Linked DNA regions of Homo sapiens: region 2 is linked to region 1. The links are contacts of gene promoters, found by promoter capture Hi-C in blood cells and fetal thymus (Javierre and others, 2016). All regions are on one chromosome and are shown on one strand. The core of a region is centred on a gene start or on the middle of the fragment in contact, and the rest is flanking DNA. Distances in the headings are between cores, read along the strand shown.

What was found. The method cuts DNA at HindIII sites, captures the fragments that hold promoters and counts their contacts. A CHiCAGO score of 5 or more calls a contact.
Region 2: a contact is called between a fragment that was not itself captured here and the fragment with the promoter of DMRT3 in region 1, in 1 of 17 cell types (monocytes). The highest score is 5.2, in monocytes.

What each region holds. Positions count from the first base shown.
Region 1 is chr9:974,811-978,056 of GRCh38, forward strand. DMRT3 (doublesex and mab-3 related transcription factor 3) reads left to right here and starts at 1,845. Exons shown (of 2, transcript NM_021240.4): 1 at 1,845-2,645. The coding sequence starts at 2,192. RefSeq lists enhancers at 1-478, 1,011-1,512, 1,513-2,012. The HindIII fragment of the contact is 15,659 bases long and covers 1-3,246 here.
Region 2 is chr9:876,035-878,938 of GRCh38, forward strand. The region is part of intron 2 of DMRT1 (doublesex and mab-3 related transcription factor 1); the gene reads left to right. Among named protein-coding and RNA genes, the nearest start is that of DMRT1, 36 kb to the left of the region's middle. The HindIII fragment of the contact is 741 bases long and covers 1,192-1,932 here.

The sequences.
Region 1 (3,246 bases), core at 595-3,094:
TCCTAGCCTCGGGCCTACAGGGCTGGGGGCGACCTCTGCCTCCCGTCCCCAGAGCTTACAAAATTCCTTCCAGTTGTATTTTAGGGCTTGTTTTCCTAGAGAAGGTTGAGACTAGAGGAAGGATTAAAGTGGTGGGGGAAGGGGCAAGACCGAGGGGTCCCTACCCCACGCGGCTTTGGAGGATGGCCTCCCAGGGTTAGCACTCGAATGCTAGAGCTTCTTGTCCACACTCTACCAGGTCAGTGTCCCGCGATCCCCACCTCCCGGACGCGTATGAAACGGGAACAGCTAAGGGCTTCAAGGGAAACACACAACTGGGGTTCGGTTTTCAACCCTCCTCTCCGCAAATCAGCCTTCTGGGCAGAGGGTTGGCTGCTAGAACGCCTGGAGGTGCTTCCCTTGAATTCATGGCAAACACCAGAGGAAAGTTTTCAGGTTGCTTGCTTACTTCCAGGGCAGTACAGAGAAAAGCGGCCTCCCCGAGGGGACAAGGGCCTCTGTGCCCATGAGGGGTCGGACATTGCAGCGGACTTGCCTACGCTCTCATCTAGCATTTGATTCCCCACCAGGAGATGGGCTTGGTGCACGCTCTCAGAAGCGCATCCACCGAAGGCTCTGGAACTGCCCCGCTTCGCATAGAGCTATTGTGCTGCCCTGCAGTGTATCCACTTGTTTTGTTTGTTTGTTTGTTTTTTGGTTTTTGCTTGTTTGCTGATGGGCAGTGGGGAGGTGCGAGGGTGGAGGGCCTTCTTTGTGCATATATAGCGATAGTCTGCACTAGGCCAAGCCCGCTACTCCTGGGAGAATGGGAACACGCAAATAATCTAAACAAAGTTTTCTGCTGTCATCTTGTGAAGGACCCTCTCCCCCAAGACATCTATGACTGGGGTCTATGGGTTAAGGAGGTGAAAAAGTGGCCCCATCCCATATCCATAACTGAATCACAGAATCCGTGGGGATTTGAACTGAGTGGCTGGCGCAAGACCTCCGTTTGCTTCCAGTAGCTGCTGGGAGCGAGGGAAGAGGATATCGGTAACTTTGGGGGCGCCAATGTGGCTTCTGTGTCTGCCCCTTGAAAGTTTATACCCGGCGCTTAACAAATCCTTTACAGGAGCACGTACGTCCCTGACCTTTCAGGATACTGTTTTATATTAAAACATGGACAGGAGGGTAGAAAAGTAAAATTCGCCTGCAAAATGGCTTGTCATCCTTGGGCCGGCAGATCTCCAAAACCATTTTCTTCTAAAGCAACAAAAGAGAAAAAAATACGTTCTAAAAGGAAATTACGAAAAGAGCCTAACTTTCCTAAACCAACATCACTTCACTCCCCTATCCTAAACTCCACCCAGGTCCGGGGTGCAACCGCAACACTCCCGTAGGTTCGAGTTCTCCCGGAGCTGAGCTTCTGCGGCCAAATGTCGGGATAAAAGCGGCCTTGGGCTCGGAAAAACGCGGCCAGATCTGGACTGGAGGGAGGAGAAGAGAGAGAAGCGGAGCGGCCACCTCACTCGCTTACAGGCACCCCCACCCTCACTCCCGCTGGTCCTCCCCTTCTCCGCCCCGCGAGCACCGCCGCGTTCTGGAGCGCCGCAGTCTCCAGCCGCGGGCTGGGGTAGCGGAGAGGGCTTGGAGGAGGGGGCCGCGAGCGCCCCCGCGAGAGTGGCCTGGCTGCAGGTGGCAAGGAAGGTGAAGTGCAGGCACCCGAGGGGCGCAAAGGAGGAGGAAGGCGTGGGGCGGGGAGTGCAAGGAGACAGGGACCCCAGGGGCGGGGGTGGCGGTGGGAAGGAGGAGGGGTTGGGGGAGGGCGGCGGAGGTGTTGGGTCCGGCCGGCTCACGAGGGAGCTGCAGAAGAGCTGGCTCAGACCTTAATCAGAGCTGTCGCCGGCTCCTTGCAGCCGCCGCAGCGCCTCCGCGAAGGAGGACGTGCCGACCCGGCTGCGCGCCCAAGGCAGAGGCCCGCGTCGGCGTTGGCTGGGCGTGAGCTGGGAGGCCGAGCTGTGAGCGCGAAGGGAGCTGGAGAGACGACTGCGGCACCTCCGGCCGCCCCGGAGCACACACGACCACCGGGGCTGCGGGACCAAGGGCCGCGTCGCCCGGAGGCCGCCCCTGAGCGGGCCTCGCAGCCCCGCCGTCCAGCGCTCCCTGGCCCTCTCCCGCAGCCAGGCTGCCAACTCATTCGGGAGCCCGGGGCATGAACGGCTACGGCTCCCCCTACCTGTACATGGGCGGCCCGGTGTCGCAGCCGCCACGGGCGCCCCTGCAGCGCACGCCCAAGTGCGCGCGCTGCCGCAACCATGGCGTCCTGTCCTGGCTCAAGGGCCACAAGCGTTACTGCCGCTTCAAGGACTGCACCTGCGAGAAGTGCATCCTCATCATCGAGCGGCAGCGGGTCATGGCTGCGCAGGTGGCGCTGCGCCGGCAGCAGGCCAACGAGAGCTTGGAGAGCCTCATCCCCGACTCGCTGCGCGCTCTGCCAGGGCCCCCGCCGCCGGGGGACGCCGTCGCCGCCCCGCAGCCGCCGCCAGCCTCTCAGCCGTCGCAGCCGCAGCCGCCGCGCCCTGCTGCCGAGTTGGCCGCGGCCGCCGCGCTGCGTTGGACTGCCGAGCCGCAGCCCGGGGCTCTGCAGGCGCAGCTCGCCAAGCCAGGTAAGAGCGTCTGAGGTGCGGGAGTTTGGCCGGGCGCGGGGGCAACTTCGGAGTGCCAGCTGCAGCTCCACTTGGGAGGACTGGAGGCAAAGTTTTGGGACGTGGGCCTGTCGGGGCTTTCCTTCCTACTCTCCGCCAGGCCGGGGCTTCCTCTCCCGGGAGAAGCCGGCTGAGTCTGGACCCAGCGCGAGTGGCACTCGCGCCCGCAGGGAAGGCGCCTCCGGGCAGCCAAACGACGGGACTGTGCGTCAGTATCGCCAGGTGCCTTCCCAGGTTGAAGGGTTCGGAACGTGTCAGATTGAGCAGGGAGACAACGGAGTTGAGACAGGACAAAATTAAAACCCACGTGCGCACACTCACTACGGTGGGGTCGGATTTTCCTGGCTGCAGGCTTTAGAGGTCCTTGCCATTTGGGGGTTGGAATGGGTAGGTAGGTGTAGGGAAGGAGCCAAGGCCAACACTCGGCTGAGTCGAGCTGGCTGTGCTTCTCGGCCGGCCCGGCCCTGCCCAGGGCCCAGGAAAATTTGAGTGAGGACAAGTATCCAACTCTCAGAACCCTGGCCTTTCTAGCTTTGCTCCGTGGCCTCCAGACTCTTGTAAC
Region 2 (2,904 bases), core at 312-2,811, 99 kb before region 1:
TGGCATGCTTTGCTGCACCCTTTTATCCCTGTGGTTAGTGGTAGATTTGGTGGAGCAGTTAGCCCTAGGGACACAATTGAGAGCTGGGTGACAGGTCTTCTTACCTGGTTCCGAGTAGCTTGTGTATATCCTTTGAGAACAGCACAACATAGTTAGGTTAGCAGCAGCTGGCAGTGAGGCTGCAGTTTCCAAGTACAGAGCTGAACAAGAAGCCAGAATTTAGAGGGAGCTGCTTCCAGGATAAGGTAGAAGAGCCACAAGTCAGGGGCTTTGGGCCAGTGGGAAGTGACCTGGGGCCAAATCATGACTCTCAGCCACTGCCTTACCTGACATTCCCTGCTGAAAAGGGGAAAAGGCCTAGACCATCACAGTCTGTCTTTGGAGCTTAAGAACTTGACCTCTTTGCTTGACACACTCCCATGTGAGTGCTTAAAGTTAGTAGTCATTTATATTCTTTTCCAGGAAACTGCTAGGTTGACTCCTCGTCAATAGGCTTTTTTTTTTTTAATCTATTGAGACAGAGTCTTGCCCTATCATCCAGTCTGGAGTGCAGTGGTGAAATCATAGCTGACTACAACCCCCACCTCCTGAGCTCAAGTGATCCTTCCCCACTCAGCCTCCTGAGTAGCTGGGTCTATAGGCTCGTGCCACTATGCCCAGCTATTTTAAAATGTTTTGTAGAGATGGGGTCTCGCCATGTTGCTCAGGTTGGTCTGGAACTTCTGACCTCAAGCAATCCTCCCGCCTTGGCCTCTTGAAGTGCTGAGATTACAGGCATGACCACTGTGCCCAGGTAACAGGTGTCTGAGAATGTCTATCAGCCAGACTCCACGGCTCCCTTTTCCCCTTCTGACACGGCATGGTAGACAAGTGTGAGGTCTCAGAAGAGGCTGCCTCAGCCATGGTCCCACTTCCAGTTACATGTGTGTCCTCAGACTTGCTCAGAAGAGGCTGCCTCAGCCATGGTCCCACTTCCAGTTACATGTGTGTCCTCAGACTTGCCACTTGAACCTCTCTGGGTGTAGAAACAAGGGATGAAATTACCTCCAAGGACTTCTCTGTGGTCACATTCTGTGAAAGGCTATTGGATTTAATTCTCTGTGGTTCACCTTCCCTGACTTTGGTAAAAATGATGGTTGAAAGAATGGATGAATTTTTATTTGTAGAATCACCTTCTTTTAATGTCAAAGAAGCTTTATTCCAAAGGAATAAAAAAATTGAGTGGTCTCGTTCCCAGGATATACATACACTCTGCTGAACAGGTTTTGAACCGTGTAATACCTTAGAGGTATGTCTCACCCCCCTGGAGGGTGCAGTAAGGGTTCTGAAGGAGGCGATGGTAGAGGAGACAAAGAAATGCCAGCAAGTGGCTAAGCATTTGGTGGGCACATGTATGGCCAGCAACCCTGTTTGCACCTTTTCTTTCCCTGCTATTTATGTTGAAAAGCAAGCTAAATGTAAAGCTGCACTTTTTGATGTAGCACTAGATGTCAATTCTAGCATTAATATTTTGAATCCATAGGGAATCTGCACATCTCATTTCAGTCACTAATTTGAACAGAACTCCTCCTCCCATTCCAAAAAAAGAAGCTAAATATGGAATTGTATATATTGAATTTAAGATGTAAAGTTTCTCTGTGTCTCTGTTCACTTTCCCAGTAGCAGTCTTTAAAAAGCACGATACAATTAAACAGCAGAATCAAAGCAAAGGGAGTATAAAGGGCTCCAGATAATTCCCAGTTTGGGTTATCAGCTCCCACACAATGGAGAGTTGATTATTTTTCCTTTATTTTAGGGAAGGTAAAAGTCCATGGAGGTGAGAAAAGTACACCTGGAAGAGATCTGAAATATTCCTGATTCTGGATAAGTGTGCCTGTACAATGACCCATGGTTGGCTTTGGAATATACCATTAAAGTACTGGAGGTCAGAAAAGCTTCCTTCACAAATTTGGTTAGGTGGAGCAGGTTGCTAAAACATCCAGCAACCCTGGAGGTCATAGACCACGCTAGGAGAAATAATTATGCATGGTAATGGGCAATTACAGATAATGGCCTTCCGGGGGTGGCAGAAAATACACAGCCCCACAGCCTTGCCTGGAATGAACATTGAATAGCACATTAACTTTATAGCAAGCTAAAAGTTCAGCCCTGGAACTGCAGCTGCTGCCCCCCCCCCACCCAATAAAAATGTCTGCCTGTCTTAAGGTAATCACAGGAGTGGCTGCACTTCTCAAAAGCAGAGTCGAATAAAGGAGGAGATGGGACTGTGGGAGACAGACTTTGGAAAAGGGAAGGAATGGTGCACTCTACTCCACTGGGTTGCATTTGCCTCACTAAGTAGAGGTGGTGGCTTGCAGGAGGTGCACAGTAAGCAGTTGTTGCTTTCCTGGCGCCAGGTTTGTGTTTGACGTTTAAAATAGCCCTGTCATGATTGCCTTGTGGGAGAAACACATTGTTCCCGCATTTCCTGATTATGACTTTAGGGAGTAATATCACACCAAACGCACTCAAGGCTACTGTCTGACCTCAGAGAAGGCCAGGAGTGGAAGATTCCAAGTTCAGCTGAGCTTGGGAAGCCTGGCCAGGTGCAGCCCAGCCCTCCTGCAGTACCCTAATGATGAGGATTTGGAGCAAGGATAACTTTGTGCGGAGTTATTTGGTGGCTCTCTTGCTTGATGGCAGAAAACGTTATGGCCGTGTTGTGATTGTGATAACAATAATAGCTAACATTTATTGAGCACTCAACACGTGGCAGAGCCTTTCTAAGTACATGTCTTCTCTCATATAATTCTCAAGTAGTAGTAGTATTTCTTTGCTACGTGCAAAGGCTGGGACATGCAAAACGTATATAACTTGCCCCATGATTGCATGGCATTAGATTTCAGATCCGATCAATTACTTTTG